6 separate regions of the Homo sapiens genome follow, and all the other regions are linked to region 2. The links are contacts of gene promoters, found by promoter capture Hi-C in human tissues and cell types (Jung and others, 2019). All regions are on one chromosome and are shown on one strand. Each heading gives the region's core, a stretch centred on a gene start or on the middle of the fragment in contact. The rest is flanking DNA. Distances are from core to core; before and after follow the strand shown.

What was found. The method cuts DNA at HindIII sites, captures the fragments that hold promoters and counts their contacts. A contact is called where the count stands out against the background at its distance.
Region 1: a contact is called between a fragment that was not itself captured here and the fragment with the promoter of DENND1C in region 2, in 2 of the 25 tissues and cell types used here (heart right ventricle and lymphoblastoid cells).
Region 3: a contact is called between a fragment that was not itself captured here and the fragment with the promoter of DENND1C in region 2, in 2 of the 25 tissues and cell types used here (neural progenitor cells and spleen).
Region 4: the fragment with the promoter of SH2D3A here is called in contact with the fragment with the promoter of DENND1C in region 2 in 9 of the 25 tissues and cell types used here (IMR-90 fibroblasts, dorsolateral prefrontal cortex, heart right ventricle and 6 more).
Region 5: a fragment that was not itself captured here is called in contact with the fragment with the promoter of DENND1C in region 2 in 3 of the 25 tissues and cell types used here (bladder, dorsolateral prefrontal cortex and lymphoblastoid cells).
Region 6: a contact is called between a fragment that was not itself captured here and the fragment with the promoter of DENND1C in region 2, in 2 of the 25 tissues and cell types used here (dorsolateral prefrontal cortex and lymphoblastoid cells).

What each region holds. Positions count from the first base shown.
Region 1 is chr19:6,110,624-6,113,458 of GRCh38, reverse strand. No RefSeq gene overlaps it. Among named protein-coding and RNA genes, the nearest start is that of RFX2, 1.5 kb to the right of the region's middle. RefSeq lists a silencer at 2,638-2,835. The HindIII fragment of the contact is 4,122 bases long and covers 1-2,835 here.
Region 2 is chr19:6,480,317-6,484,088 of GRCh38, reverse strand. It overlaps DENND1C (DENN domain containing 1C), which reads left to right and starts at 2,302. Exons shown (of 23, transcript NM_024898.4): 1 at 2,302-2,410. The coding sequence starts at 2,394. RefSeq lists enhancers at 1,817-2,111, 3,708-3,772. The HindIII fragment of the contact is 27,793 bases long and covers 1-3,772 here.
Region 3 is chr19:6,851,175-6,854,669 of GRCh38, reverse strand. VAV1 (vav guanine nucleotide exchange factor 1) reads right to left here. Exons shown (of 27, transcript NM_005428.4): 25 at 1,591-1,705; 26 at 572-723. Among named protein-coding and RNA genes, the nearest start is that of ADGRE1, 35 kb to the left of the region's middle. The HindIII fragment of the contact is 9,205 bases long and covers 1-3,495 here.
Region 4 is chr19:6,766,017-6,769,676 of GRCh38, reverse strand. SH2D3A (SH2 domain containing 3A) reads left to right here and starts at 2,242. Exons shown (of 10, transcript NM_005490.3): 1 at 2,242-2,290. RefSeq lists a silencer at 1,704-1,763. The HindIII fragment of the contact is 38,619 bases long and covers 1-3,660 here.
Region 5 is chr19:6,074,587-6,078,056 of GRCh38, reverse strand. All of the region lies in intron 1 of RFX2 (regulatory factor X2), which reads left to right. It overlaps RFX2-AS1 (RFX2 antisense RNA 1), which reads right to left. Exons shown (of 2, transcript NR_199041.1): 2 at 933-1,037. Among named protein-coding and RNA genes, the nearest start is that of RFX2-AS1, 14 kb to the right of the region's middle. RefSeq lists an enhancer at 2,897-3,470. The HindIII fragment of the contact is 7,886 bases long and covers 1-3,470 here.
Region 6 is chr19:6,041,851-6,045,270 of GRCh38, reverse strand. It overlaps RFX2 (regulatory factor X2), which reads left to right. Exons shown (of 18, transcript NM_000635.4): 3 at 989-1,078; 4 at 3,148-3,227. Among named protein-coding and RNA genes, the nearest start is that of RFX2-AS1, 19 kb to the left of the region's middle. The HindIII fragment of the contact is 4,983 bases long and covers 1-3,420 here.

The DNA.
Region 1 (2,835 bases), core at 114-2,613, 370 kb after region 2:
CTAGCAAATAGTAGGCGCTATCTATCTATCTATCTATCTATCTATCTATCTACCTATCTATCTATCATCATATACTATATATATACACACATATATGTGTGTGTATATATGTGTGTGTATATATATAAATGTATATATATATATATTAGAGACAGGTTCTTGCTCTGTCTACCAAGCTGGAGTTCAGAGGCACAGTCATAGCTCACCACAGCCTAGAACTCCTGGGCTCAAGCGATCCTCCCACCTCAGCCTCCTGAGCAGCTGGGACTATAGGTGTGCACCACTGCGCCTGGCTAATTTATTTTATTTTTATAGAGATAAGGTCTCACTATGTTGCCCAGGCTGGTCTTGAACCCCTGGCCTCAGACGATCCTCCTGCTGAGTCACTGCACTTGGACCTCAATAAATATTTTTGACTAAATTAATAATTGAATGAAAGGGACTGATTACTGTAGACCACTTGAGCTTAAGAATCTGTCACATGGCCAGGCGCAGTGGCTCCTGCCTGTAATCCCAGGACTTTGGGAGGCTGAGGCGGGTGGATCACTTGAGATCAGGAGTTTGAGACCAGCCTGGCCAACACGGTGAAACCCCGTCTCTACTAAAAATACAAAAATTAGCCAGGCGTGGTGGCGCGTGCCTGTAACGCCAGCTACTCGGGAGACTGAAACAGGAGAATCACTTGAACTCGGGAGGCGGAGGTTGCAGTGAGCCGAGATCATGCCACTGCACTCCAGCCTGGGCGACAGAGACTCTGTCTCAAGAAAAAAAAAAAAATTAGAAGATGATGAAATCAATTTAGCAAATCACCGTCAACATTTTAATTAAAATGAAACAGAACAGGAAATATCAGAGTGCGTTAAAGTATCATTTCACGGTACTTTAGTTACAGTATCATTTGTTTTAGTTATAGATATGTTTGTGTGGACTGAGCCCCTAGGTAAAATGTATTTCCTGCTGTATGCTGTGGTCAAAAATGTTTGAAAACCACCCATCTAGTGATCAAGAGCATGGACTTTGGCACTAGACTACTAGGGTTCCGATCCCTCACAAGCTGTTTGACACTGGGCAAATTCACTCATTCTTTCTGGGCCTCAGCTTCCTGATCTGAAAAATGGGGAAAGGCCGGGCATGGTGGCTCATGCCTGTAATCCTAGCACTTTGAGAGTCCAAGGCGGGCGGATCACTTGAGGTCAGGAGTTCCAGGCCAGCCTGGCCAACATGGTGAAACCCCGTCTCTACTAAAAATACAAAAATTAGCTGAGCGTGGTGGCGGGCGCCTGTAGTCCCAGCTACTTGAGAGGCTGAGGCAGGAGAATCACTTGAACCCGGGAGACAGAGGTTGCAGTGAGCGAGCCAGATCGCACCACTGCACTCCAGTCTGGGTGACAGAGAGAGACTCTGTCTCAAAAAAAAAAAAAGAAAAAACAAAACAAATAAAAACGGGGATAATGCCTAGCATCTTTCTAAAGATGCGATTGTAAGATTTAATGAGTTTGCATATTTAAAAAATGCTTAGATCACTTTCAGGCACATAGCAATTTAATCAGTGCTCACTAATATGATTTCTTGTTGAATGAATGAGTGGGGCTGAAGCCTAATCTCCTGCCTTTTCTCAGTACAAGTTGTTTTCTCCTATTCTTCCAGCCCCTTGTCTCGAATAACTATATGTTTACCTCTTTATTCTGTTTGCTGTCAATGTTCCCTCACTAGAATAAAAGTTCTATGAGGATCTGTCTGTTTCTGTCCTACTCGTAGCTGAATCTACCAGCTTGAGAGGAGGGCTGGTGAGTTTGGCAAACATTTTCTGTAAAGGACCGTATAGTAAATATCTTAGGCTTCGCGTGGGACATGCCGTCTTTGCGCAACTACTCCACTCCGCCCCTGTAGTGTCAAAGCAGCCTTCCAAGCTGTTCAAGGAAATGGGCGTGGCTATGTTCCAATAAAGCTTTATTTACAAACCCAAGCAGGCAGAATTTGACCCGCAGGCCGCAGTTTGCCAATCTTTAAACTAGTTCAAAATACTGGGCCCAATACAATAAAAGAGAGTCTCCTATCAGGTTCACACCCCACAAAAGCTCCTTTTGATAGTTTCTTTTTTTTTCTTTCTTTCTTTTTTTTTTTTTTGAGACGGAGTCTCGCTCTGTCGCCCAGGCTGGAGTGCAGTGGTGCGATCTCGGCTCACTGCAAGCTCCGCCTCCCAGGTTCGCACCATTCTCCTGCCTCAGCCTCCCAAGTAGCTGGGACTACAGGCGCCTGCCACCACGCCCGGCTAATTTTTTGTATTTTTAGTAGAGACGGGGTTTCACCGTGTTAGTCAGGATGGTCTCGATCTCCTGACTCCGTGATCCACCCGCCTTAGCCTCCCAAAGTGCTGGGATTACAGGCGTGAGCCACCGCGCCCGGCCGATAGTTTCTTTTAACCATGTAAAAAATATATATATATTTAAATTTTCAGCTGGGGGTCCGTGAAAAACAGGCGGCGAGCGAGAGTTTGCTGACCCCTGATCAGACTGTTCCCACATGTCCCACACTCCTCCTGTGGGGTAAACGGAGTCCCTTGGGTCCCCTAAAACTGGACTTTCCCAAAACGCGCCACCAACCCACGGCGCCGCGCGCGCGACCGGTTCGCCAACCCTCTGAGCCGCGCGCGCCTCCCGCCAAGACCCGCCCCTCTTCGCGGCCATTGGCCGAGTCTCGCACTCTTTTTCAAGGGGGAACGCCTCCTCCTTCCGACAGACTCTGCAGACAGCCAATGGAACGCCGTAGGGTCTCGCGCCCCGCCCTCTTGGGGGCCCGTTGGAGGCGAGCGTGGGCGGGCCGTTAGGAAGGTGG
Region 2 (3,772 bases), core at 1,053-3,552:
ACCACCACACCCGGCTAATTTTGTATCTTTAGTAGAGACGGGGTTTCTCCAAGTTGCCCATGCTGGTCTCAAACTCCCGACCTCAGGTGACCCGCCCACCTCGGCCTCCCAAAGTGCTGGGATTACAGGTGTGAGCCACCGCACCCGGCCACGAGGTGTTTTCACACCACACAGTGGTCTGAGTCTGTTGGCAGGATTTCATGTGTAGGTGTGACCCTGACTATATCATGTTCTGTTTTTGTGCCTGCAGATATGTTCACATATCCTGTCTCAACATGACTACGTCTGTCCACCTGTGTGCCTGTGTCTTTTTTGTTGTTTTTGTTTGTTCCTGTGTTTGTTTGGAGATAGGGTCTTACACCGTTGCCCAGGCTGGAGTGCAATGGCACGATCACAGCTCACTACAACCCCCACCACCTGGGCTCAAGGGATCCTCCCGCCTCAGCCTACAGAATAGCTGGGACTACTGCACCTGGCTAAAGTTTTAATTTTTGTAAAGATGGGGTCTTGTTATATTGCTCAGGCTGATCTTTAACTCCTGGCCTCAAACAATCCTACCTCAGCCTCCCAAGGTGCTGGGATTACTGAGCCACTGCCTCCAGCCCCTGTGTCTTTCATAGTCTGCAGCACGGCTTGAGTGTGTCGGGCTGTCATGAGTATCTGGCTGTCATGTGAGTCCAGCTGTGTCTCTCTCTGCATGTGGCCGGGTCTTGGCTATAACTATATCTGGTTATTACTTGAGCTATGTCTGTGCTGTGTTTCCATCTATCTGGGTCTATTTCTCTGTTATTCTGTTTGTATCAATGGCTGTGGTCTCTGTGTAACTGTTTATTGTGTCTCTGTCTGTCTCTGCATTTGTTTGTTTGTTTGTTTGCTTTGTTTTTGTTTTTGTTTTTGAGATGGAGTCTCACTCTTTCACCCAGGCTGGAGTGCAGTGGCACGATCTCGGCTCACTGCAACCTCTGCCTCCCGGATTCAAGTGATTCTCCTGCTTCAGCCTCCCAAGCAGCTGGGATTACAGGCACATGCCACCATGCCCAGCTAATTTTTTGTTTGTTTGTTTGTTTTTGATTTTTTGAGACAGAGTCCTGCTCTGTCGCCCAGGCTAGAGTACAGCGGCGCGATATCGGCTCACTGCAAACTCCGCCTCCCAGGTTCAAATAATTCTGCCTCAGCCTCCTGAGTAACTGGGATTACAGATGCCCACCACCGTGCCTGGCTAATCTTTGTATTTTTAGTAGAGACTGGGTTTCACCATCTTGGCCAGGCTGGTCTCGAACTCCTGACCTCGTGATCCACCTGCCTCAGCCTCCCAAAGTGCTGGGATTACAGATGTGAGCCACCGCACCTGGCCTGTATTTTTTTTTAATTAGAGACAGGGTTTCACCATGTTGGCCAGGCTGGTTGCAAACTCCTGACCTCAAGTGATCCGCTTACCTTGTCTTTCTGCGCACAATGGGTGTGTAACTGTGACTAAGTTGTTTTTTTTTTTTTTTGAGACAGGATCTCACTTTGTTGCTCAGGCTGGAGTACAGTAGTGCAATCTTGGTTCACTATGGCCTCAAACTCCCCAGGCTCAGGCGATCCTCCTGACTCAGCCTCCTGGGTAAGCTGGGACTATAGGTGCGTGCCACCACCGCCAGCTATAATTTTTGTAGCTTTTATAGACACAGGGTTTCGCCATGTTTCCCAGGCTGGTCTCGAACTCCTGGGCTCAAGCGGTCCTCCCACCTTGGCCTCTCAAAGTGCTGGGATTATAGGCGTGAGCCACTGTGCCCGGCCTGGGACTATGATCCAGCTGTAGGACTCCCTATCTCTCCATGTCTGTCGTCTCTGGCTCTTCTGCACTCGGTTTGTCTGTGCTGATGACTTCCTGAGCGTGTAACTGTCTGTGTCTGTGTCTGTCTGTCCGTCCCTGTGCCTGTACTTCGTGCTCTTTGTCCCCATCCCTGGCCCCCCCACCGTCCACTTTACAGGTGGCTCCCTCTGGTGGTCCACCAGTGACCGTCCAGGCCAAATGGACCAAGGGAAAGAGACGGGGAGGCATTTCATTAATAGACAGACTGTGAATCTTGGCTGCTGCGGAGCGGGGAAGGAGAGATGAGGGCCCAGGCACGATGGGGGGAACCAGACACAGTCCAGCCTGGCGGGGACGGAGCTGGGGGTCTGCCTTCCCAGGCTGACCACTTATTGCCCACCCATCCCCAACATAATTAGCAGGCAGGATGCCTGGGTTTCTCACGGGGGTGGGGGCAGGGCCTCTGTCCGGGGACGTCACCCGTTAAACTTCCTCTCTCAGCCACACAGGAAGCTGAGCCGGCTTGGGGCCCAGCATACACAGGCCCCCAGGACCCCTGGGGAGAGGGCCCCGCTGGGCTGGCCCTGCAGGGACCATGGAATCCAGAGCTGAGTAAGAGCCACCCCATCCCTCATTCTCTGGTACAAGATTCCCGGGCCAGGCCTGAGCCGGGGCAGAGGGGAGCTGGGGCTGGAGCAGGCCCGGGAGGTGCAGTGACCTGCCAGGGCAGGTGGCTGGAATCAGATACTCCATGGGCCTCCGCTATGACCTTCACTCTGGGACAGGCCACTCTCGGTCCCCTCCTCTCTCTCTCTCTCTCTCTCTCTATCCAGCTCCTGTGATTATGTCTATAGCTCTGTGAATGCATGTACCCCTCTGAGCTTTGTCCTTGGTATGTCTGAGTGATGGCTTCAGGGGGTCCACAGGGCGGATGATCAGGGCAGAGGGGAGGCTGGGTGTTGGTATGAGTGGGTGATCGTGTGTGACTTGTGTCGGCGTGAGGGTGAAGTGCTGGGGTACCCATGGTGGGGACTGTGTGTGCAACTGGGCGGGACAGTGTGTGTGCAGCTGATCTCCCTCTAGATCTCCCTGTCTCTCTCCTTGAGCCCAAGGCTGCCTCTTCTGCTTGATATGGGGGCAGAGGAGGAAAGCAGAGATTGCAGGGCTTACAGTAAGTACCTAGGTATCCTGCCCTCCTTTCTCTGATGAGACATGTGGGACCAGCCACGAGGGTTCTATGGGGTCTCACACACAGAGACACACAGCCAGCCCACAAGGATCCCACGCGGTTACCCAGTGACACTCACAGCTGTACAGGAAAATATAGATGTCATTCACTTGCTCGGGCACACACACTCACATCTATACAAGAAAATATAGATGGCATGGCTAGATGCAGTGACTCAAGCCTGTAATCCCAGCAATTTGGGAGGCTGAGGCGGGCAGATCACCTGAGGTCAGGAGTTTGAGAACAGCCTGGCCAGTATGTGAAACCCTGTCTCTACTAAAAATATGAAAATTAGCTGGGCGTGGTGGCGGGCACCTGTAATCCCAGCTACAGGGAGGCTGAGGCAGGAGAATCGCTTGAACCTGTGGGGTGGAGGTTGCAGTGAGCCAAGATCGTGCCACTGTACTCCAGCCTGGGTGACAAAGCAAAACTCCATCTCAAAAAAATAGATAGATAGATAGATAGATAGATAGATAGATAGATAGATAGATAGATAGATAGGTGGGTGGGTGGATGGATAGGTGGGTGGGTGGGTGGATGGATGGATGGATGGATAGACAGAGACAGACAGACAGACAGATAGATGGATATATATATAGAGAGAGAGAGATGTAATTCACTTAGCTTGGGACTGCACGGGCTGTCCTTCATATCTGTGCAGTCTCATGCCACAGATATAGGAGACAGTCTCATCTTTTCAGGCAGACAGCAGACAGGATCACACACACACTGCCTGCTCACAAAAG
Region 3 (3,495 bases), core at 287-2,786, 370 kb before region 2:
AATCATAGCTCACTGCAGCATCCAACTCCTGGACTCAAGCAATCCTCCCACCTCAGCTTCCTGAGTACCTGGGACACACTACCACGCCCAACTAATGTTTTTGTTTTTATTTTTATTTATGTAGAGGTGGGATCTCACTATTTTAGCCAGGCTTGCCTTGAATTTGTGGCCTCAAGAGATCCTCCCACCTCAGCCTCCCAAAGCACTGGGATTACAGGCATGAGCCACCGTGACTGGCACCCTTGTTAGTCTTGACCACTCAGTGTCATGACTGCTTGGTTATAGGTCTGTCCTCCACATTCGATTATAAGTTTCATGAGGGCAATCCTTGTACCGTGCTTGTTTCTGTCTCCTCGACACCCAGCACAATGTCTGCACACAGCAGGTGCTGAATACATGCAGGTAGGTTGCATAAATGCATAAATGACATCCCTGTGTCCCTTCCTTCCCTCCCACCGTGAGAGATCTCCATGGGAGCCGCACCTCACCTTCTCCAGTCCCCAGTTCCAGTCTCGTCCACCACCAGCTCAACCCCCATGCCCTCCCCGTCACCCAGCCCTGCCTGCCTCACCCGGCCATAGATCTCCCCTCGCCACCAGCCTTGCTGTCCCTTCTTGTTAAGGATCTTGATGATGTCACCCTCCTTGAGCGACAGCTCTGATCGGTCTCGGGCGCAGAAGTCATAGCGGGCTTTGGCTGTGCCAAAATACTTTGTGCTTCCCACTGTGGAGAGAGAACAGAAGTGAGAAAAGGGTCTGGGGCAGATACCCACTCACTCTCTGGGGGCACAAGCTCTCAGGACAGTAACTCCAGGATAAAGGGCTCCTCAGTGCTCTTTTCTGCAGAGTATTAGATGCCCTGTACTGTAAGGGGACACAATTGTACTCCCAGCATCATCCTCCCGTCTGAATTTAGAAAATAACACTTTTTTTTTTTTTTGAGATAAAGTCTCTCTCTGTCACCCAGACTGGAGTGCGGTGGCACAATCTCAGCTCACTGCAACCTATGCCTCCTGGGTTCAAGTGATTCTCCTGCCTCAGCCTCCTGAATCACGGGGATTACAGGCCTGTGCCACCATGCCCGGCTGATTTTTATGTTTTTTTTTTTTAGTAGAGATGGAGTTTCACCATGTTGGCCAGGCTGGTCTTGAACTCCTAACCTCAAGTGATCCACCCACCTTGGCCTCCCGAAGTGCTGGAGTTACAGGCATGAGCCACCGCACCCAGCCAGAAAATAAGACTGGTTTGGAATTTTTATTTTTATTTTTTTATTTTGAGGCTGAGGCATGAGAATCCCTCGAACCCAAGAGGTGGGAGGCAAAGGTTGCAGGGAGCTAAGATCGCACCACTGCACTCCAGCTTAGGCAACAGAGTGAGACTCTGTCTCAAAAAATAAATAAATTAATTAATTAAATTATATTATATTAAAATATATATAGGAAGGGATAGACAGGAGTGGAAAGGGGTTCCTGCTACTGCACAGATATGACCTCTGCAAGGCCATTGGAAGGGGTGTCAATGGCATCCCCAAAGTTTCCCTCCACAATGGGAAGGGGCTGAGGCTGTAAGCCCCCAGTCTGAGACCTCCTACCTGCTGGCCTGCTGATGGTTCTCTTTTCAGGCTCCTTGAAGGGGAACTGCAAGGTGGTGTCCAGAGACTTGAAGCAATCCTTTAGAGAGTTCTGCTGGTAAAACTCCACCAGCTCCTAGAAGGCGGACCACATGGCAGATGCTATCCCAGCGGGCCAGCCCATAAGGGGGCAGAGCTAGGAACAGCCATATGCAACTCCTCACATGAAGCAGGCCCTGTTTCTGGCCTCTTTGGAAAGTGACCCCTTGAATACTCCCCATGATGGGGAGTTCATCACCTCCCTGAGCAGCCAGGACTATTTATGGGGAAGGGACCACACTGCCTAAAACAGGTTCTTTCTTTCTTTTTTTTTTTTCTTTGAGACGGAGTCTGGCTCTGTCGCCCAGGCTGGAGTGCAGTGGCGCAATCTCGGCTCACTGCAAGCTCCGCCTCCAGGGTTCATGCCATTCTCCTGCCTCAGCCTCCCGAGTAGCTGGGACTACAGGCGCCCGCCACTACGCCCAGCTAATTTTTTATATTTTTAGTAGAGACGGGGTTTCACCGTGTTAGCCAGGATGGTCTCGATCTCCTGACCTCGTGATCCGCCTGCCTCGGCCTCCCAAAGTGCTGGGATTACAGGCGTGAGCCACCGTGCCCGGCCAAAAACAGGTTCTTTCAATAGTGGACTAACTTACTTCGTGATAAATTTACCAGATAATTAGCTCACCAAATTCAAAACCTTCTATGGGGCCACATGCCTTAATTTACAATTAGCAATCATCATCAGGCCAGATGTAGTGGCTCATGCCTGGAATCTCAGCACCTTGGGAAGTCAAGGTGGGAAGTTCACTTGAAGCCAAGAGTTCAAGACCAGCCTGGGCAACATAGCAAGATCCCATCTCTAAAAAAGATTTAAACAATTAGCCAGGCATGACAGTGCATGCCTGTAGTCTCAGCTATTCAGGAGGCTGAGGAGGGAGGATCGCCTGAGCCCAGGGGTTTGAAGCCACAGTGAGCTATGATCACAACATTGCACTCTAGCCTGGGCCACAGAGCAAGACCCTGTCTCTTGTATTTTTTTTAAAGTAAACCTATATGAAAGGTTCATAGATACTCACTACCCTATTCCAATAACTTGTCTGAAATTTTTCAGAAGTTAAAAATTGGGGGAATATGTTTCAGAATAAAAAGTATGGAGGAAAAAAAAGATTTGTTGAATAAATTAAACTTTGGGGGAGTCAAGGATCCATTTGAGAATCAAGTGAAATCTAAGACAAAAAATACAGATGCATGCAACATTCTGATTTTCTTTCAGAGGACTCAGCTTCTCAAGGGCCCACAGACCATGGGTAAAAACCATATGCCTTAGATCATTAGGCCTAAAGTGTCTAAAATATGGTTGAAAATTACAAGGCACCAAACAGAAGCAAGAACCCTCAAAAGGCATTTGAGTTGTTGCTGAAATGATTATGCAGCAGATTAGGCAAAGACAAGCTATGGGCTCTGCCATTCAGTGAAGCTAGACGAGGAGTAAACCTCAGTTTTACCCATCTGTGAAATGGGAACTCAGAAAGAAGGTTGAGGGGATTAATTAGGTTTCTATCTATAACATATTTGAGGGCTGAATGCAGTAGCTCACACCTGTAATCCCAACACTTTGGGAGGCCAAGACAGAAGGATTATTTGAGCCCAGGAGTTCAAGGCCAGCCTGAGCAACAAAGCAAGTCCCCATCTCTACAAAAAAAAAATTTTTTTTTAAAATTAGCCAGGCATGATGGTGCATGCCTATAGTACCAGCTGCTCGGGAGGCTGAGGCGAGAGATTATTTAAACCAGGAATTTGAGGCTGCAGTGTACTATGATTGCACCACTGCACTCCAGCCTGGGCAACAGAGCAAGACTCTCTTTCTCTCTCTCAATCTCTCTC
Region 4 (3,660 bases), core at 993-3,492, 290 kb before region 2:
TCCCAGGTTCAAGTGATTCTCCTTCCTCAGCCTCCCCAGTAGCTGGGATTACAGGTGCATTCCACCACACCCAGCTAATTTTGTATTTAGTGGAGACAGGGTTTCACCATGTTGGTCAGGCTGGTCTGGAACTCCTGACCTCAGGTGATCTGCCCACCTCGGCCTCCCAAAGTGCTGGGCCCTCTTTTTAAATTATTATAACCACGAGGAGGCGCTAGACCCCTTCCCTGAACATGCCCCTACCCTCTGACTGTACCAATACCAGACCGGTGAGGGATAAGGAAGAAACTTTCTTCCCCTCTTGAGCCTGGAGTCTCTTCCATATTTGCCAGGGCCAGTCGGGGGAGCCCAGTCTGGAAATTCCCTGCTTTGCAACCTACAGGCATCAAAACTTTTCATCCCCAAGCATCGTTGGCCCTCTAGGCCTCAATTTCCTCATCTGTAAAATGGTGGGTGAGTAACTTTCACCGCAAAGCAGCATCGTGGAGAAAGTGGGCATGCGAAGATTGAAAAGGAGGCAGACAGGATAAAGCTCCAGAGCTCCGGGTTTGAATTTCGCCTCTACCACTTACAAGCCAGGTTAACTTGGGCAAATGGTTTAGTTGCCCTGTGCCTCAGTTTCTCCATCTGGAAAATGGAAGTGATGAAAATACTACCTACCACCCTTACAGGGTGGTCTGTTTGAAAATTAAAATAGAGGCCTCATGCCTGTAACCCCAGCACTTTGGGAGGCCGAGGCAGGTGGATCACATGAGGTCAGGAGTTTGAGACCAGTCTGGCCGAGACCCCATCTCTACTAAAAATACAAAAATTAGCCTGTAATCCCAGCTACTCGGGAGTCTACAGCCGGAGAATCGCTTGAACCGGGGAGGTGGAGGTTGCAGTGAGCTGAGACTGCTGCCACTGCACTCCAGTCTGGGCAACGAGAGTGAAACTCCATCTCAAAAAATAAAATAAAATAAAATAAAGGCAAGTTGACAGAACAGCCCTTGTGTACAGTAAGTGCTCAATAAATGTTAGCTGCTGCTACTGCTTTTAAGACTGTGGTTACTGGGGCCAAGCACAGTGGTTCATGCTTGCTTGTAATCTCAGCGCTCTGGGAGGCCAAGGCAGGAAGTTCGCATGAGCCCAGGAGTTCCAGAGCCTGGGCAGCATAGTAAGACGCCACATCTACAAAAAATAAAATAAAATCAGCTGGGTGTGGTGGTGTGCACCTTTAGTCTCAGCTGCTTGGAAGGCTGAAGCGGGAGGATAGCTTAAGCCCAGGAGGTTGAGGCTACAGTGAGCTATGATCACCACTGCACTCCGGCCTGGGCAATATAGCAAGACCCTGTCTCTACAAGACAAGACTGATGTTAATATGAGGAACTCATCAATAAACGTGGCCAAAGAGTCCTCTCTCTTGCACTAGGTCCCTGTCACCTTTTCTCTTGTTCGTCTCCAGGCATCACGATGGAAGTCCCCCCCACCCTTCTTCCCACCTGGGAAACCACCTGAATGATTTGCCTTCCACCTCCACCAAAGTCCCGCCCCGCTCCAGCGTGCTGTCACTGAAGGAAGCTGTCGCGTTTTCCCGGACGTCTCTCCACAAAACCCGCCACCTAAATGGGGCTTCTTTCCGGAAAATCCGGGAGGGCGGTCTGGAGGAAGCGTACCCCTCCTTACGTCACAGCTGCCGCAGCTACCCCAGCCTGGCGTAAGAGCCCGAGGGAGTTGCCCTGCCCTGACCCGGAGCCTTGGCGGGGAGGGGAGAGAGGCACCCCACTCCACCCCGCCCTGGTCCCAAAGGGCCATGGGTGCTTGGGGCCGCCTGGGTGGAAGGGAGGGGCAGGGTTCTAAGGGGCGGGAACGTTGGGATGAAATTTCTTCTATTGCCCTAAGGGGCGGGGCTGAGAAGGAGGTGGCTGCGGGTGGGCGTAGTCATTCGGCGGTGGTCGTGGCTATATACAAGGGGAGGGGCCACTGGCAGGAAAGGATGCGTGGTGCTCCCCTAGTGGGCGGGGTCTATGGAGAAAGCGGTGCGATGCAGAAGGAGGCGTGGCTAGTAGCAAAAAAAATGGTTTTAAGGGGGCGGAGCAAGGGCCTGGGAAGTTAGTTTGAGGCGGGGCCCGCAGGGGGCGGGGTCTGCAGGAGGTGTGGTCAGGTAACTGGGCTGAGTTCCCACTAGGTGTGGTCTGGGAAGGCTGGGGCGGTGGCAAGGTGGAGGGCGGGGGTGACAGCAGCCCGGAGCCGCGGAGCCTCAGCTTCCGCCTGGACCCAGCCTCGTGGGAGCCCCGCGGGTCCTGCCCAGGTGAGTGGAGCCCCAGGGCAGATCCAGAACCAGGATTATTGGGATGGGGAGTCCTCTCTTTCCAGGTGGGGTCACCGGCTCGCAGGGAGGATCTGGGGTAGAAGAGGTCGCCTCGCGAATGAGAGGGTCGCTGTGCGTTACGCGTGTCGGTGTGCTCGGGCTCACCTGGGCGTGCCTCTCTAAGTGTATTTCCTGTGCAGCACAGAAAGCCATTGTTTCCATTTTTGCCTGAGTGATCCTCTTAAACGGCGAATCAGATCGGGCCCCTCCTTCACTTAAAACCCTTGGGTCATAGAGATTAAAATTCAAAGTCCACTAGTTTTTGCCTAGTCTCTCCTCCTGATCTCTCCAACCTCATTGCCCTCCTATCTACTCCTTCCTCATCGTATTCCGGCTACACCAGCCGCCTTGATGATGTAAAATGTAAAAAGCAAGTCCATCTCAGCTCCAGGCCTTTACCCTTACTGTACCCCTCACCCAGGCGACTCCTCCAAATCTTTGCCTAACTGCCTCCTTCTGTACTGAGGTCTCAGTTCCAATGTCACTTTATAGGAGAGGCTGTCCTGTCCAGCCTCCTCTATCACATCTCCCTGGCTTATCACTTTCATTGATAACTCTTAGAAATGGTCTGTCTTCTCCATTCATCTTGTGCTCGTTTGCAGTCTGTCTTGCGCAGCCGACTGCAAGCTCTGGAGGGCAGGGTGGTGCCGAGCTTTAATCTCCTTAGTCACTGTATCTCTAGGTCCTAGAACAGAGCCTGGTGCACAGCAAGTGCTCCAGCAATGGTCGTCCAACGTCAAAAGCGAGTCCTGCCTACATCTGTGTTTGTGTTGCCTGTGCTGGTGGTTCCCACCCTCCACGTCCTCCCCACACGTGGACACATGTTTATGATCCAACTGGAACATGAATAATCCCCTCTCTCCTCTCTCTATGCTTGGTCTGATTCCTGATTCTGCCCGTTTCTTCTCTTCCGTGCCCGAATAAATGATCCCAAAGGACTCAGAGGCAGGAGATGGCTTAGTTGGCCTTTGGCTGACCTATGGCCACCCTGTGTCCTCAAACTAACCAGAACCTTGCCATTGACTCAACTTCACTCTCACTAAGGGAGACACAAGACAGGAACTTGGGGTTGGGAAACTCTGCGACCGAGGCTAGCCCTGGTCCAGGTGACAAACAGGAAGTGCGCAGGCATTGCAAAGACACACCTGGCTTCAGGTATGCGGCACTGGCAGCTGGCTCCCTGCCCAGCGCTCCTCCCCTAAAGCCACCTAGGGCTGGTCTGGGAACTTCCTGCTGACTCAGGAGGCAGGAATTTCTCTGCAGACCCCACCAGAAGACTTTGCAGGGCTGCAGGGAGAGCTTGCAGGAGA
Region 5 (3,470 bases), core at 107-2,606, 410 kb after region 2:
AATGTTTTCAGGGTCCACTGTCCATCCGTTTACAGCATGTGCCAGTGCCTCGTTCCTTTTTTTTTTTTTTTTTTTTGAGATGGAATTTTGCTCTTGTTGCCCAGGCTGGAGTGCAATGGCGCGATCTTGGCTCACTGCAACCTCCGCCTCCCGGGTTCAAGCGATTCTCCTGCCTCAGCCTCCCAAGTAGCTGGGATTACAGGCATGTGCCACCACGCCCGGCTAATTTTGTATTTTAATAGAGACAGGGTTTCTCCATGTTGGTCAGGCTGGTCTCAAACTCCTGACCTCAGGTGATCCACCCGCCTCAGCCTCCCAAAGTGCTGGGATTACAGGTGTGAGCCACCGCGCCCGGCCGCCTTCGTTTATCCATCCATCAGTTGACAAACATTTGGGCTGTTGCTACTTTGGGGCCATTAGGACAACGCTGCTGTGAACATTGGTATCCAAGCATTTGTGTGGCCATGCACTGTTTAGCACATGTCTACTTCTGCAGGATGAATTTTGAGGAGGGGAAAAAGACCCCACTTATAGCTAGCTCTTTGTCTCTGACTGTGTAGGTTTGAACATCTCGTAAGTCTTGAGAAATGCTTGGAGGCCATTTCCTGCAGAGGCACACGCCCCTCTTGGGTGGGCTGGGGGAGGCAGTGGCAGAGCCCAGCCCACCTGCCCCAGCCACCAGTGCTCCCGGGTTTTGCATTCAGCCCCTGGCACACACTCATGGCTAACCCTGGTGCCCTTGCCTGTCTTTGACCCAGCACTGGCGAAGGAATTGGCAAAGCCACCAGGTTAATGATGCAAGCCCCAGAAACTTGCGGCATAGATGAGAAGGCAAATGGCCTCTCCTTTTGGAGAACTAAAGAGATTTAAGGAAGCTTGCTGGCTCACTCCCTCTCACCGGCAAGGATGGCACTAAACACAGTCCGCATCAATCACTGTTTTTGTTATGCGATTTATGAGTTGCTCAGCCGAGAATAAGGTTGCACGTGGTAGGAGGAGTTCTGTGTGTACCGAGGTCTCATGGAAGGACTGGATTTCTAGGGAAGAAAAGGGAAAAGGGAGTTGATGTTAAAATATCATTTCTATAACAGTAATGCAGTAGTGTTCATCTAGAAGGAGAGCTGCCACATTTGGCAAGATGCTGGGAGAGAAACAAGTATTAAGTACTTGGTTAAAATGACAAACCCCACAAATATGCCCTGGAATGAATATAGCTCATAGCAGGAGGCACTCCCTAAAGGGCTTAGCAACATCACAAATAGCGAAGAGTTTTTGAAATCACAAATAGCAAACAGCATAACTGCTTTTAGTTTCAGATATTTAAATCTGCAAAAAATCAGTAAATTATGTGGGTTACGTTATAATGGTGTGAATTACAACGATGACGCTAATGAACATTTATGGGCATTTTCCGTGTGCTGGGCTGGCCATTAAACTCCACACTTTGTAGGACTCCTCTCATTTAACACAACCACCCAACACAGATAGAAGTATTTTCTCCGTTTATGGACAAAGAAATGGAAGTGCAGAAAGATTTAAGTCCCTGGCTGAGGTCACCCAGCTAGAAACTGGAGGACCCAGGAACTGGACCCAGGCACCGGACCCAGGCACCCTCGCCTAGCCTCCTGTTTTAGAGCTAGGATGCACCGTAAGGTAGTTAATGGTATTCCAGTTGATGAACGTTTGTTTCTTATTTATGTATTTATTTATTTTGAGACAGAGTCTCTCTCTGTCACCCAGGCTGGAGTACAGTGGCACCATCTCGGCTCACTGCAACCTCAGCCTCCCGGGTTCAGGCGATTCTCCTGCCTCAGCCTCCCAAGTAGCTGGGATTACAGGCATGCACCACCACGCATGGCTAATTTTTGTATTATTTTTTAGTAGAGATGGGGTTTCGCCATGTTGGCCAGGCTGCTCTCGAACTCATGACCTCAAGTGATCTGCCCACCTTGGCCTCCCAAAATGTGCTGGGATTACAGGCATGAGCCACCGCCCCCAACCTCGTTTCTAATTTTTTGTGAACACCAAGCTCCGAAAGCCAAGTAAAGGGGTGACGCTGTGTATTTCAGAGCTCGATATTCCCTCTGCTTTCTTCCTCTCCTCTGTCCCCTATGCCAGATCCTCCAACTGTTCATGACCTTTGAACTTGAGAAGGGACCTCTTTTCTGCTTTATCTACACCTGCTTTCCTGGTGATCTCACCGAGGTACAAGAGTTGAAATGCATCTTAGAACCTCCAGTGTCCTAGTGTCTGCAGCCTGGCTCACTCCCCGAATCCTGGACTTGTGTACCTAGCTGCCTAGGTGGCAGCTGCATGTGGGTGTCATCTGATGGGCATCTGAGGCTTCTGTCACCCAAAACTGGGTGCCTGATTCGACCTCACACTTGTCTCTCCCCAGACCACGGGCTTCCCCAGCTCAGCACCGGGCAGCTCCATTCTCTAGGTGCTCAGGCCAGCCCCAAGCCTTAAGTCAGCCTCGACTCCTCTCTTTCTTTCACCCTTTATGTCAAACCCGTCAGCAAACCTGGCTGGCTCTGTCTTCAGGTGTCTCCCAAATGAGAGCACTGCTATCACGTAAGTCTTTGTCACCTCTGACCTGGTTGTCCAGCCCTGACGTTTGCTTCCATTGACCGTTGATACTTCCAAAATATCTGTCAGATTGTGTCCCTGTGCCCTAAACCTTCCAGTAGCTTCCCAGCACACTCAGAGCGAAAGCCAAACACTCCACTGTGGCCTCCTTGTGTCTCTAAGTCCATCTTCTCCTCCTCCTCCTCCTCCTCCTCCACCTTCTCCTCCTCTTCTTTCTCCTCTTCCTCCTTCTCCTCCTGTCTTAATCTGTTTGGGCTGTTTCAGCAAAAGGCCATAGACTGGGTGGCTGTAAACAACAGACACACATCTCTCAGCCCTGGAGGTGGGAAGTCTGAGAAGAGGGTGCCAGCAGGGTCAGGTTCTGGTGAGGGCTTCCCTCTGGGATGCAGATGGCTGTCTTCTTGCTGTGTCCTCACATCACATGGTGGGAAGCCAGAGAGAGCTCTCTGGGGTCCCTTCCATAAGGGAGGGCATGATCCCACCCTCATGACCTAATCACCTCCCAAAGGCCCCACCTCCTAAAGCTACTGCCTTGGGGTGAGGAGTTCAGCATAGGAATTTAAGGGGACACAACATTCAACCCCCAGCATTCCCCCAGCTCCCTCTGGTGGCCTCCTCACGTGACCCGTGTGACCCCACATGTCCCGTGTGCCTCAGCCTTGCCGAGCACCATCCCTGGCAGAGCCTTCTCAGCGGCGACACTTTCCTCACCTCACTCTGCCTCTGTCCTGTCACTGCCCCAGGTCACCTTGTTGCCCCTGGCCCATGCCGCACTCCACTTGTGCATTTGAGTGTATTTTTCTTCAGAGCATTTGTCACCTCCTGCTGTTCTGTGTCCATGGTGTCGTCTGTCTCTCCCTGAGGGGTCAGCCCCACATGGT
Region 6 (3,420 bases), core at 109-2,608, 440 kb after region 2:
TGAATTCTCCAAGCACACGGCGCCCAGCTCACCTGGAATCAGAATGCCCTTGCGCTGGCATCCTTATTAGCACCATCTTCATCCTTAGCTCCACTCCTGCAACACAGGGGATGGCGTGTCCTCACCCATCACCCCTCGTGATGTATATATGGCAGTCACTGCTACCTGTGACATTCAGGGTTCATGCCGGGAAATCACAGCACTGCAGCCAATGACTCCGAAAGCCCCAGCTCTCAATAAACACACAAAACACTCCTGTTCCTCCCTCGACTCGAGTTCACTTTGACCCTTCCCATTTTGATAGCTTTGTGTGGCCAATCGGTACTCCCAGAAAAATAGCAAAGCCACACTGTGCAGATTTGACTTAGGAGGCTGGAGAGCAGTGGGGTCAGAGAGCGAGGGACCCAGACACAGGGCACCTGGACTCGAGTATTCTGTAGCCAGAGGCAGCACTTGAGCCCTCTGGCTTCATTAACCTCATCAGAAAATGGAAACAAGTCCGGGTTATACTGCAGAAGCGAGGGGCGCCACAGAGTGCTCTCCCACGCAGTGGTGCGGATGGCTATCCAGAGGGCCCCAGCAGTCCCCTCTGTACTAGGGACGATCAGTGTCACCTTGCTGCAGACTACAGACCCACAGAGGCAAAGCTGCCTGGGCGGGTGAAGGTGCATGTGCTTCCGTGTATGTGTGTGTGCATACGTGTGTGTGTGCCCACAATTCGTGCATATGTGTGGTGCATGGGCTGAGTGTATGTGCACACTTGTGTATGTATGTGCATTGTTTGTGTGCCTGCACGTACCTGCCGTGTGTCTGCCCAGGTCGGTGTGAGTGTGCAAGTCTGACCATCACCCCGCCGTCGCCTCTGATCAGTCCTGCCTATGTTTTAATAAAAAGCACATGAACAGACAAACAGCATCTTACATTCTGTGTGTATCCTCAGCACTGACCTCTGACAAGTCTAACTGGCCTTCTCTCCCTTCCCTTTTAGAGGGTGTTGGTCCAGGCAGCCAGCTCCAATCCCAAAGGGGCCCAGATGCAGCCGATCTCCCTCCCCAGAGTTCAGCAGGTACCCCAGCAGGTAATGACAAGCACCGCAGCACCGTGCAAACCGGGGCGCAGTTAGCACTCAGCAATCCAGAACAATCTCTGAAGGATGCATCCTTTTCTGTGGCTGCTGTTCCTTGTTGTAAGCTTCAGTTTCTTAGCCAAAAGACTTTTCCAGAAGCTGTGCAATTTTAAAAAAATCATTTACTGCAGATAGTTTTGCAGAAAGCCAAGAAAGCTGGTGATCTTTCGTTCATTCAGAAATTCAGCAAGCATTTGGGGAACCAGTGAGCACCCCGCACCTGCTGGGTGGAGCTCAGGTAGAAATGCAGACAGAAACAAAGGGCTCTGGACTGGAGGAACCATCTGCTAGTGAGTGCCATACCCTCAGATGCGGGCACAACAGAGGAAATGCTTCTTATGATTTCAATTATCTAAGAACAAAGTTTGAAAGCACGGCTGACCAGCCAAGTAGCAACACAGATCATCAGCTTGGGGACACTCTAGAAGCATGGTTAGCAAACTGTTTCCAGAAAAGGCCAAATTATACATTTTTGGGGGTTTGTGGTCCAGGCAGTCTCTGGAACAACCACTCAATTCTGCCATTGTATCGCAAAAGCAGCCATAAATGATATGCAACCAAATGGGTGTGGCTGTGTGCCAATAAAACTTTATTTACAAAAACAGGCAGTGGGCCAGATTTGGCCCTCAGGGCCGGAGTTTGCCAACTGTGCCCTGCAGAATCCTGAATTAAAGTTAACTCAGGCTCCTCCCTAAAAGGAGCCCTGAGGCCCTAGAGAATGCACCGCTCTTCAGGAGGGTCCTGCCTAGATTGGCAGTCTGTTCACAGGCATTTGTCAGGTGACTGTGTCCATGAGAACTAGGAAGGTTTGCAGGATCACAGGAAGGAAAAGGCTCCAGACAGGCCCAGCGGGGACGCAGGGCCTCAGGCCAGTGGCTCTGTCTTAGCTGCTGTCTGTCAAGGCACTCCCCAGAGACACCAAGGAGAGGAGATTCCAGAAGCTTCCACCACTTTTCTGGTGCTGGGCCTGCCCCAGCTCTTTCTGTAACTTCTGCATTTCACTTGGACCCCAGAATTCGACATTTGACTTCCACCCCTGGGGCATCACCCAACAGATGTTAACCCCTGGAACTTGTGATTCTGGGGGTGGTGCGTTGGACAAGTGCATACCATGCTCAGTGGTCCAAGGAGGGGCAGGTCAGCCCCATCCTGCAGCTTCAAGCACAAGAGGAAGGTCACCATGACACCATGACACCCGAACAAGCCCACTTCTGTGGCCCTCCATCTTCTCACCCCAAAATTCAGTGGATGTAGACAGCCACTAAGATGCCCTCTGGGGTGAGAGTTTGAAGTCCCATGTGCAAAGCGTTTGGCTTCCACTGCTCGGACTAGAGTCCCTCGGGGCCTGTCAGCCGAGGCTCTGAACTGATGTTTCAGAGAGGGGAGGGCAGGGCAGCGGGGGTGTGCTGGGGTCCCCCCATTGCCCCATCTCTCCAGGCATGCCGCTCCTTCCCACTCTGTTCAGACCATCACATTCTCTCCCCTCCTCTCTGCCAGGGAAGGGGCACCAGGGCCACCCACGGGGGGTGTTGGGGCCATGTAGAGTCTAATCTGCTCAGCCCCCTGTGCACTGCAGCCTGCACGCCAGCTTGAGCTACAGAGGGAGACCCTGTCGCAAAAAAACAAACAAACAAACAAAAAAAAAAAACAGAAACCAGGGACAGTCCTGTGAGCCAAGGCTGGGCCTCTGTCCACAACTCTAGTTTCCACTGCACTGGAGGAGCGTTGTCATTCTCCTGGTCCCGCCCCCACGTATACAGAGGAGCCAGGGCGCACAGACACGCTAGCAGAGCTCTGGGGATCAGTCGCAGCTCCCTGAACTGTGTGGGCCCGTTTGGAATATGTCGTCTGTACATTACTGTCTCCTCAGTGTCTTTCTAGGCGTGCCGACTGTGGGCGGGAACATTGTCATTTGGTACTAAATGTTCATAAAGGCAATAGAAGACACGTCTAGCTTGAATAATCTGCAGGCAACTCACGAGGGCGTGACTGGCGGTAACGCAGCGTATCCGATGTTTCAGGTGCAGCCGGTGCAGCACGTGTATCCTGCCCAGGTGCAGTACGTGGAAGGGGGAGACGCCGTCTACACCAATGGAGCCATGTGCGTGCTTCTCCCGCGGGCCACACCCGGAACCCTCTCCCTGACTCCAGCCTTTGCCACCTGGGGAGGCATCAAGCAAATTCCTCTCCCTTATGCTTTTGGCGATGTGTTCACTAAATACTGTTAAAATGCTATTAGGAAACTGGGCAATATCTCTACAAAAAATTTTAAAATTAGCCAGACATGGTGACAA